2 separate regions of the Homo sapiens genome follow, and region 2 is linked to region 1. The links are contacts of gene promoters, found by promoter capture Hi-C in human tissues and cell types (Jung and others, 2019). All regions are on one chromosome and are shown on one strand. Each heading gives the region's core, a stretch centred on a gene start or on the middle of the fragment in contact. The rest is flanking DNA. Distances are from core to core; before and after follow the strand shown. Region 1 holds the start of YOD1 (YOD1 deubiquitinase). Region 2 overlaps CR1L (complement C3b/C4b receptor 1 like).

Region 1 (5,465 bases), core at 1,025-3,524:
TCTTTAGGGTTACCATAGCTTATTGGAAAACCCAGAGCCTTCTGGATGTGTGAGGTAGTAGGCTTCAACCCTCATTCATGCATAGGTCACACTTCTCCAAAGTTGGTATGGCCTGTCTCCTTGGCATGTTCCCTTGCTTCTGCTTGTCCAGTTAATCCTTTCTGACATACCATGCATCTCAGGGTGAAGCGGTTGACATCAGTAAACTGTCTCCTTCTTCTAGCTTCATCTGCTAATTCCAGTGCTTGTACAAGAACAATATCATCATTAGAGGAGAAAATGGTCAGAGGAGGTGTATCTGGATCAGGGAAGTTACGCTGAAGTGGATCATAGTGGATGCCATCATAAATAAGCAGAACCCTTTTGGTATATCCTGCATCTTCCCCAAAACGATCAATTCTTACTGTCTGTGTATCCACTACACATATTTCACATTGGTAAAACTTGGACAAAATCGATATCTCTATTGCTCCTCCCCAAGTGTCATCCCTTTTGATCCAGTCACAGTACTCTTGATTTGTTTTTCCCAGTATTGCCTCACTATAGAAGTCTGGATCGCTTGCTACAATTTGTGCTATGAGGCGTCTCATCTCAGGGGCACAAGCTGGATTCAAGACTCCTCCTTCGACGACATAGTACACACTAGTAAAGAGGCAAGAGTTGTCTGCTGGGACCACGGTTCTGGTAAGCACAGGCAAAGTTTCCCTGACGTAACTAGAAGCACCACGTTTAGTAAATGCAGGTGAACTTCTGGGCCTGGTTTGGTCTTCTTCAATGATCAGCATGTCACCTGTTAAAAATAAAACAAATCCCGATCTGCAAAGAAATTACAGAAGAAACCGAGTGTTCTCTAGCCAAGTCTGTAAATTACAAACTGAAGGAGTTAAAGCATAAACTGGGGTTACTAAGGAGAATACAGTTTTGCAAGTAAGTTACCAGTAAGAATCTTTGTTCACTGAATTTTCATAAAGATGAAAAAAGAACAAAAAACACTTGAGGTTGCATCCCAATTTAGTGAAGGGGTCTGGAGTAAACAACTTCAAGCTTACCTAAAAAGATACATTTCAAAAACAAAATTTCCTTTCCTTATACAGTATTTTACAGAAGGTGCTCACTACAGAGTAGGCCGCTAGGGGGTTCTCCTTCTCCGGAAACTTATCTACTCTAGAGTGTTTACAACATCCTTGATACAGCAACTGAAAGCTTTTAATTATAAACACTGATGTTCAAGTTTTGATATGGCACAGAAATAACTGCTGCTGGTTAGAAATTGAAAGAGCTTTCAGTGGGTGTTTTAAAAGCTAACTCGAAAATGAGTATGCCTGTCAAACGAAGTATCTACGAAGGGGACTGCAAAAATGAATCAAGAAAAAAAAAATCCTGCACCCTTGAGATCTCATCGGTGATATAGGGAAAAAGAGACATAAGGACAGAGAAAATAGGCCCTACTTTATATTTTTGTGGACGCCGAGGGAAAACAAAATGGGATAGTTTCAAAGCCGACCAGAAAGCGGAATGGGGAAGGGGGTCTTCAAGGCTTTGGGTTCCCTTTCAACCCTGTGTCAAGACAAGGAGTTGCTAGACACTTGCCCTGGCCCCCGTCAGCATTCTCTGTTCTTTGATCTATCCTCGCCCCTGGCCTCAAAGCCCCCCCGCCGACTCACAGCCACCTTGCCTTGACTGGTGTTTTGTTCTCTCTCACGCCCCTCTCCATCCTCCCGGGACTTTCCCTGGCCCCAGCCCTGATTCCTTACCAGATTGGATGGGCAAGTCTTCCAGAATGGTATCCCCATTGCTGAGATCCAGGCACTCGGGAGGGTATCCGACGAGGATTCGCTGACCGCCGGGGGCGATCCCGGTGATGGCGGCAATTTGGCCCTGGAGTTCCCGCACCCGGGTCCGGCTGGACAGCCCCTGCAAAACATGGGTGCCGTCCTTGGCCTTGCAGCGGAGCCGCCACATCGTGTCGGTCCGGCTGCCCACAGGCCAGGCACCCGCGGGGCCAGCTTTGGTCCCGGCAGCCTGTTGGGAGACGCCGCCGGGGAAACCAGGCGCCGGGTGGACTCCAAAATGGCGACCTTTAGCGGGGCCAAACATCGCGAGAAGTTGCGGGTGGTTGCAGTTATCGCGACGCTTCGGTGCGGCTTCTGCCTTAGTACCTTAGCAAGCGCGAACTCTTTTAAAGTGACAACTGATTTTTCCCCCACCCTCAGAACGAAGATGTAAACCTCCGTATTCCTAAAGGACAACGGGTCTTGCTACCTATAGAGCGAGTGAGGTGCCCTCCGCGTGGGTAGCATATATGCTCAAGAAAAGAGGGCGGGGGAAGGAGTTCCTGAATGAAGGTCTGGAGATTGGAATGTGACCTTGCACTTAGTGAGGTCGGAAATTATTAAATTGGGGCTTCCACACTACACCCAGACTACACCAGGAGAAACAGAATCATAGTTCACAACGCAAACGAATGCCAGGAATGGTCAGTGAGTCAAAGGACCAGTCAAAAACAATCACACTTGTGACTAGACTCGTGGCTGCATTAAACATTGACTCATTGGGGTTCCAGGGGCCAAAAGACTGGCCTTTCTGCCTCCCTGGGACTGTGCTTGAAAACGTCTATTTGCCACTTCAGAAAGCACAGTATGAGGTCAGCATCTGGGCCCAGGGCAGCTGCCTCATTCAGGTGGTGGCAGTGTAAGGAGGAGTCGTGTAACGCGTGTCATCAGATTCCAGTTCAGTTCCTGGGCATACAAATATGAAGACTTCATTCCTGCCTTCATTGTAACAAGTATTCATTGCAGTTGGGAGACAGGGTGGGGTGTGAGACACACAGCCACTGAATTTCAAAGCAACGTGATAATGCTAGATTATCTGTACCTTTTCAAACGTGTATGCCTAGAACCCAGGACTGTGCCTCGCAAATAAAAAGTGTTCAACAAATACTGGCTGAATGAATAAAGACAGAGTTGTATAGACATAGAGAGGGCAACTAGAGCACTCTGGGAGTTGTAAAAAGCCTTAAAGAGGAGATAACTGTTTGAACTTTTGGAAGAATTAGTTTAATTCCCAGGCGAAGGAGGAATAAAGACATCCCTGAATTTATATCTCTCTTTTCCAAGAAATCCATACTCATTGTTCTTTATCCAGCCGGGATTCAGACAGCAAGTCCCACTTGCCAAGAGTGGGTTTATCAAGCATCAAACGGGCCCGCTGGGGCAACTATGAAAAGTGTAGTTCACTTGGTGCAAACTCACCTCCACTGTAAAAGACTTTGCTTCTGAATAAATTATATGTAATGTTTCCATCTTTTCACATCTTTCATGACTCAATTTTTTTTTGCTGGTGCAATTTTCCTCCTTGGTTCTTCAAGACGACTGCAACGGATGATACAGCCTGGGTTAGGGGGTAGGTAGGAGGGAAGGTAGGAGTGGTTAGAAGTCCACCGGGGTGGCCGGGCGCAGTGGCTCACACCTGTAATCCCAGCACTTTGGGAGGCCGAGGCGGGTGAATCACCCGAGGTCAGAAGTTCGAGACCAGCCTCATCAATATGGAGAAACCCCGTCTCTACTAAAAATACAAAATTAGCTGGGCGTGGTGGTCCATGCCTTTAATTCTAGATACTGGGAGGCAGGAGAATCGCTTGAACACGGGAGGCAAAAGTTGCGGTGCCAAGGTCGTGCCATTGCACTCCAGCCTGGGCAACAAGAGCAAAACTCCATCTCAAAAAACAAAAACCAAACCAAACCAAAACAAAAAAAACTCCAATGGGGTGTATGGGTGGGTCCAGGGAAGCTTCTGGTTCAACGATGAGAGTGGTTGATTTTCTTAGGTCACAGCGTCTGACCTGTGGAGCCGGGTATGTATACACCCTAAGGCATAATTAGCTCAAGTGTTGTGGTAGTTTATTCTAGCAAAAACATCTTTAAAGCTTACGTTCCCATTTATGGATCTAATGAGGTTCTGCTGGGATTCAGGAATGAGAGCGTTAATCTTTGCAGCATTTTCTCGTCACCCGGCACACCCGCTCTCAAGACGCCTACCGAATAGTCTACTCTCGCGAGAGTCAGAAAAAAGTCAAGCTTTTTATTAACACCGCCCCCAGCCCTATTAGTTACCAAGCAACAGTGCCACCAGGCTCCTCGGCGCTGGGAAACTCAGGAGCTTGTGATCTCTCTGGTTCCGACTTCCAGCCGCCTTCCCGAGCCAGTTAGGCGATTGCGACCCTGCCCCGCCCCCTGGGTCCTGCAGGCGCCCGATTGGTGGATGATTCTCTCCAGGTGAGGACCTACGCGCGAGGGGGCGGGGCCAGACGGGCTCACATGATTTGCCGGCGACTGTAGCGCCGGTCCCGGCCACAAGCTGTCGGCTCGGTTCGGTCGCGTTACAGGGCAGGCGCCGGGGCCAAGGCAGGGAGGGATCTTAGGAGAGATCGTAGGGTGAGCCACAGCTGCGCAGCCCCGGGTAGGGTCTAGCGGGGCGGGATGTGGGGGCTGCGTGCCCCCGGATGAAGTGCGGGGAGAGGTGCTGGTCCCCAGGCATGGCAGGCAGCGCGGACGTTCTGGGACCGGGAGCCACAGTCTGTGTTTGGGTTGGAGGATTTGTGTGGTCAGTAAAGGAATCGTGTAAGGCTCTTGAAGGCGCAGGATCTTCCGTCCTCACCAGCCCCCTGTTGTCTGAATTGGGGGCATGAGCTCAGGACTTTCCCACTCCAGTTTGAATCAGGGCTTACCCCTCTTCCTGAGGTGACCTTGGGGAAGTCATTTACCACCTCAGCGCTCCGGCGTTCTTTAGACTGAGTCCCGGGGGTAACTAGGGAGAGGGTGCGGAGCAGGGCTTGAGAATGCACTAGAGGAGAAATGACGACGTGCTAGGGCTGTCTTGGGGTCCAGTTACTGTTTTTCCTTCAGGGAATATGTTCGAGATTTTCCCACGTCCCTCACTTTTTTCTTTTCTTTCTTTCTTTTTCATTTTTCATTTTTTTTTTTTTTTTTTTTGACAGAGTCTCGCTCTGTCGCTAGGCTGGAGTGCAGTGGCGGGATCTTGGCTCACTGCAACCTCCGCCTCCCGGGTTCAAGCGATTCTCCTGCCTCAGCCTCCCGAGTAGCTGGGACTACAGGCGCGCACCACCAGGCCCGGCTAATTTTTGTATTTTTAGTAGAGACGAGGTTTCACCATGTTGGCCAGGATGGTCTCTATCTCTTGACCTCTTGATCCGCCCGCCTCAGCCTCCCCAAGTGTTGGAATTCCAGGAGTGAGCCACCGTGCCCGGCCTCACTGTTTGCAAAACTGAGTCCTACCGTTAGATTGGAGTTAATTTCCTGGTAATGTACTTCGTCTATACATAACCCACCCCACCCCAACTGCTGCCACTACTCTGCCCAGATTCTTAAAACTAGAATCTGAGGTCATGAAACCTTGAGCAGGACACTTAATTCGATGAATCTCAAATTTTCAATCTGTAAAATGAG
Region 2 (5,436 bases), core at 1,537-4,036, 620 kb after region 1:
AGCAAAGGAAACAACAGAGTGAAGAAAAAAACCTACAGAATGTGAGAAAATGTTTGCAACCTATGCCTTTGACAAGGGGTTAATATCCAGAATATCTGAGGAACTCAAACAACTCAGCAAAATAAAACAAATAATATTATTTAAAAGTGGGCACAAGACCTGAACAGACATCACTCAAAAGAAGACATAGAAATGGCCAACGAATATAAAACAAAATGCTCAACATTCTTAGTCATCAGAGAAATACAAAATAAAACCAGAGAGAGATATCACCTCACCCTAGTTATCAGAGCTCTTATCAAAAAGATAAAAGATAACAAATGCTGCTGAGGATGTGGAAAATAGAGACCTCTTATACACTGTTAGGGAATCCAAATTAATATGGCCATTATGGGAAATAGTATGGAGGTTTCTCAAAAAATTAAAAGCAGAACTACCATATGATCCAGCAATCCCACTACTGGGTATATACCCAAAAGAAAGGAAACCAGTATGATGAAAAGATATCTGCACTCTCACATTCAATGATGCACTATTCACAATAGCCAAGGTATGGAATCAACCCAAGTGTTCACCAATGGACGAATGGATAAATAAAATGTGGTATATATACACAAGGGAATACTATTCAGCCATAAGAAAGAATGAAATCCTATCATTTGCAGCAACATGGATGAATCTAGGGGATATTATATTAAATGAAGTAAATCAGGCACAGAAAGACAAATCCTGTATGATATCAGTCATGTGCAATCTAAAAAAGCTCATCTCATAGAAGTAGAGAGTAGAATACTGGTTACCAGAGGTTGGGGTAGGGAGAGACAATGGGAGATGGAGAGAGATTGGTTAAAGGGCACAGGGTCACAGATACATAAGAATAAATTCATCCTTGAATACTTAACCCTCTGCCCTACATCTGTCACTCCTACATCCATATTCATTGCTAATCCTGGGGCTAACTCTTGATTGCTTTCTTCTCACTACTAACCTTAAGAAAGGAAGTAACCAAAATCCAATACATGAGCAACTGTTCATTCCATCTCCAATATCTTTGTTAATTGTCCACTTTATCCACCCAGTCAGGGCCACCATCAAACCTCACTTGGATGTCAGCAAAAGCTCCCTGGCTGGTCTCCCCTCTCCATTATTGCTTTAATCTAGTCTCCATACTATACACAGATTTACATTTTTTGAATATATATCTAATTGTCCTTCCCTTTTTAAAAATCTTACAATGGCATGACATCTCAATTCACGATAAGGAAATTGGTTCTTCACATTCCCTGTGCACTGTACACATCGCCTGCAATTGCCCTTCAACACAGAGAGCAGGCATTTCATTAGCTGACCTTCCCACACACATTCTTGCAAAGAGGAAAAGTCAAGCAGGGTGTTTGGAGGTGAGTTGCCATCATCCACCGCCTTTGTCTGGAAGGAAGCGCAGGGCCTCACACGCGGGATCCATCGGAAGCCCAAGCATTGTCAAGCTCTGCTGCTGCACCTGGGTCAGCAAGGTGGGCTCTGCCAGCGAAACTCGTTAGAAACAATGCAAATGGGGAGTAAACATGGCCTTGCCCATGAAGGGGAAGCTGGTCAAAAGCATTTTGTCCCGGAACCCCGCAGCCCTCCCCATGCTCTGGGCGCGGAGCACAAGGATTGGTCACTCCTCTTTGCACTGCGCTTTTCCTCTTATTTCAGTTTTCTTCGAGATCAAATCTGGTTTGTAGATGTGCTTCGGGAGGATGGGGGTCTCTTCTCCGAGAAGCCGGGAGCCTGTTGGGCAGCCGGCGCCCGGTCTCCCCTTCTGCTGCGGAGGATCCCTGCTGGCGGTCGTGGTGCTGCTCGCGCTGCCGGTGGCCTGGGGTGAAACGCTGGGGGGCGTGGGGAGGCGCCCGGGCTGACGAGGCACCCAGGGCCCCGCAGAGAACTCGCGTGCCGCGCTGGGCTGCGCTGCTCTGCGCGCCCGGGTCCAAAGGCAGCGCGATGGGTGGGCTGAGCGCGCTACCTGGCAGGGCGGCGGGTCTGGGATCCTTCTGCGCACTGGAGACCCTCGCTGCCTCTAGGTAAGCGTGGAGTTCCCACGTGCAGGGGCTTAAGTCGTGACGAGCGCAGTGGAAGGCGCAGATGCTGAGCGGGTGCCGCACGAAATTCCTTGCCTTTGTGTATTCACAGCCTCGGCTGGCTATAGCCGAGCGTGGCGTCGATCCTAGCGAAACGGGACTTGGGGATCCGACAAACCTGAGTTCTGGTCCTAGAAACTTAACTGTGAGGCAAGTTAGCACACCTAAGTCTGTTTGCTCTTCTGTAAAATGGGGACACTGGTATCTCTGCATTGTGGAGTTGCTGCCTCAGTGGCATAAAGCCTGTCGAGTATCTAACACAGGGCCTGTCCCCGAGTCCATTTCTATCCCCCAACCGTTACCTCTGCACTTTGCTCCCAGTGGTGTTTAGACAAGCAGTCCTAGGGATGTCCTGCATGGAACTGTCCTCGTCCCCTACCCCAAGCCACCACCGCCATCATCATGATGCACTTGATTGACAGCATACTTTAAGACAGATGCATGCCAGGCACTTGGGGATTAGAAGAGCAAGGGAAGCCCCAGAACATGCAATGTAACCGCTGCAGGTAGAAGGGACAGTAGATATGTTTACAATTTGCATTTTAGTGATGTGTTTAGTACAAAATAAAGCCTATTATAACTACTATGGAAATTTTGAGGCCACATCTCTTCCTTTTTTTAACTTCAAGTAGGTAAACATCTTCAGTTAGAACCCTTCTATTATTAGTTTTGGGCTCCCCAGAAGTCTTCTTGGTTGCCTAGACTCACTGGCAACATCTCACTTGAAGTGACAGTTTTGGTTGTTTTGGTCCTGTCTCTTCCTGACAACTCAGGGTTCGTCCTTCTCTGCCACTAGACGTTTTGCATTCATTATTTGAGTGTTCCTTCTTCTCTAAAAGAGTAAGGGGAAAAGAAAACCAAGTTCCCCCAAGAGTTGTTATTAATATTTGATCTCCTTAGGCACCAGAAAGTAACCTGTCTAGTGAAGAGATATGATAAAACTTACAATTTTATTTTTAGGAGAGAAGCATGCCCAGTAAGTTAAGCAATCTGTTGTCAGTGCTTACTGAGGTTCTCACAATAACCTCCAAATGTGAAACAGCCTAAACTAAACTACCTAGAAATTTTGTTGCTGGAGTAATTTCAATTTTAAAATGCTTATGGATGCTTCCGGTGTGCACAGTCCTTTGGAATTTAAAAGAAATGTAAGAGAAAGAGCTATGCTCCCAAGGTGTATGCATATAGAAGTAGGTGGTGGAGTTTTATGAAATCTACTTTTTAGGAAGCCAGTGTTCTGGTTTTTCCAGACTCTGCTACTTACCAACTGGGGCTGTGGACCCAGCAACTTAAGTCACATCACTGACCTTCAGTGTCCACGTGTATAAAATGAGCATGACTGACATCCTGATTTCTGAGAGAGGTATTTTGAAAATCAGGTGGGGTAGTGCATGTGACAGCGTTTTGTAATCTGAAAACCCTCATGCATGTCTGAAAAACCATGACTAAGCAGTCGTGCAAGACTGCAGGATCACTGAAAAGGGAGAAATCTCAACTCCTATGATCAGGAAAGGGTGAGGGAAAAGAGTATGACTTTACTAGCACTTGAAGAGTGAATCCAGAAACAGGTTGCATAGGACAGTTTATGGGAATATTTATATATAAAAAATAACAGAGGAACTAGGATTGTTTTGTCATTAGAGGGTACTCCTACTACCCATGAAGTGGTATGGTGCTATTTGAAAGAGAACTTAGATTAGCTGCAAATAGATATTGCAAACTTAGGGCAACTACTGAAAAAAGTGAAAAAAAGAAGTACAATTGATATGCCAGTAAGGAAGAGTGAATTGCATCATATAAAATGCTCAGTTAAAACAATAAACGGGGCCAGGCGCAGTGGCTCACACCTATAATCCCAGCACTTTAGGAGGCAGGGTAGATAACTTGAGGTCAGGACTTTGAGACCAGCCTGGCCAACATGGTGAATACCCATTTCTACAAAAATCCAAAAATTAGCTGGGCATGATGGTGGGTGCCTGTAATCCCAGCTACTCAGGAGGCTGAGGCAGGAGAATCTCTTGAACCTGGGAGGCAGAGGTTGCAGTGAGCCGAGATCATGCCACTACACTCCAGCCTGGGCGAAAGAGTGAGACTCTGTCTCAAAAATAAAAATAAAATAAAATAAAGGTCAGGAAAAGAATGCAAGACAAAAAATAGAAACAGAGAACAAGAGAAGAAAGACAACAAATAGAAACAAGTAACATATTAAACCAACTATATCAACCATCATTTTGAGTGTCAATGATCTAAAGGCACCAATTGAAACAGATCATCAGAGTCGATCAACAAACAAAACTCAACTATATATTGTGTACTCCCTATAAGACCATTTTAAATATAGACAATATATATTAAAAGTAAATGGGTAAAGATATACCATGCTAATGCTAGTCACAGAAAGCAGGAGTAGCTGTGTTAATTTCAAACACAGCAGACTTCAGACGAAGGAAAATTATTAGGAATAAAGAGGGTCATCATATAATGATAAAGGGGCTAATTCTCCAAGAAGGCATAACAATATCTAATATGTATCCATCTGACAGAGAAACAAAATATGTGGGGCAAAGCTGATAGAACTGCAAGGAGAAATAGATGAATGCACTATCATAGTTGGAGACTTCAGCACCTTTATCTTTTCTGATATCAGAAAAGATAAAGGTGCTGAAGTCTCTTTATCAGAAATGGGCAGATTCAGCAGGCAGAAAATCCATAAGGACATACTTGAACTCAACAGCACCATCAATCCACTTGGATATAATTGACATATACAGACGACTTCATCCAACAACAGCAAAAGACATTCTCTGGCTCACATTCATGGGGATAGACCACATTGTGAGCCATAAAAATAGTATGCTAATTAAGCTTTACCAGGGAGTGTTTAACATAGGGTAGACTCTGGCGCCCTCACATGGTCCTCATGTAGGATCTGATTTGGTTTTCCCTGCTAGGTAAAGGTGCAAGATAGAAAGAAGGGTAATTCCAATTTGCTTTCTGTGCTTTGTGATGTATTCTGGTTTACATATGCTCGGATGAGTAGATGTATGATTTATATTATCTACTGTTATCTAAAATAAACTTCACATTCGGACAGGCAACATCAAAACTGTCCTACACAGAAATACTGGGTGAAGATCACTTAATAAGACGAACTCCAGAAAACAAGAAAATGGCAGAGTTGACAATCCCTCTCACCCTCCCTGCAAAGACACATGTATACAAATTTCTTTTGTCAGAGACATTAAGAGAAACAAATGCTGTCAATCTAATCACAACTGATCACAACTTGATGAAACCAAAAAATCTAGAAAGTATCATG

What was found. Contacts are between HindIII fragments. The study calls those that stand out against the background at their distance.
Region 2: a fragment that was not itself captured here is called in contact with the fragment with the promoter of YOD1 in region 1 in 1 of the 25 tissues and cell types used here (hippocampus).

Annotation. Positions count from the first base shown.
Region 1 is chr1:207,048,934-207,054,398 of GRCh38, forward strand. YOD1 (YOD1 deubiquitinase) reads right to left here and starts at 2,275. Exons shown (of 2, transcript NM_018566.4): 1 at 1,755-2,275; 2 at 1-790. The coding sequence starts at 2,097. The coding sequence ends at 87. PFKFB2 (6-phosphofructo-2-kinase/fructose-2,6-biphosphatase 2) reads left to right here and starts at 4,342. Exons shown (of 15, transcript NM_006212.2): 1 at 4,342-4,433. RefSeq lists enhancers at 1,839-2,409, 3,633-4,272. The HindIII fragment of the contact is 3,829 bases long and covers 1-2,496 here.
Region 2 is chr1:207,667,703-207,673,138 of GRCh38, forward strand. All of the region lies in intron 1 of CR1L (complement C3b/C4b receptor 1 like), which reads left to right. Among named protein-coding and RNA genes, the nearest start is that of CR1L, 25 kb to the left of the region's middle. The HindIII fragment of the contact is 6,387 bases long and covers 1-5,436 here.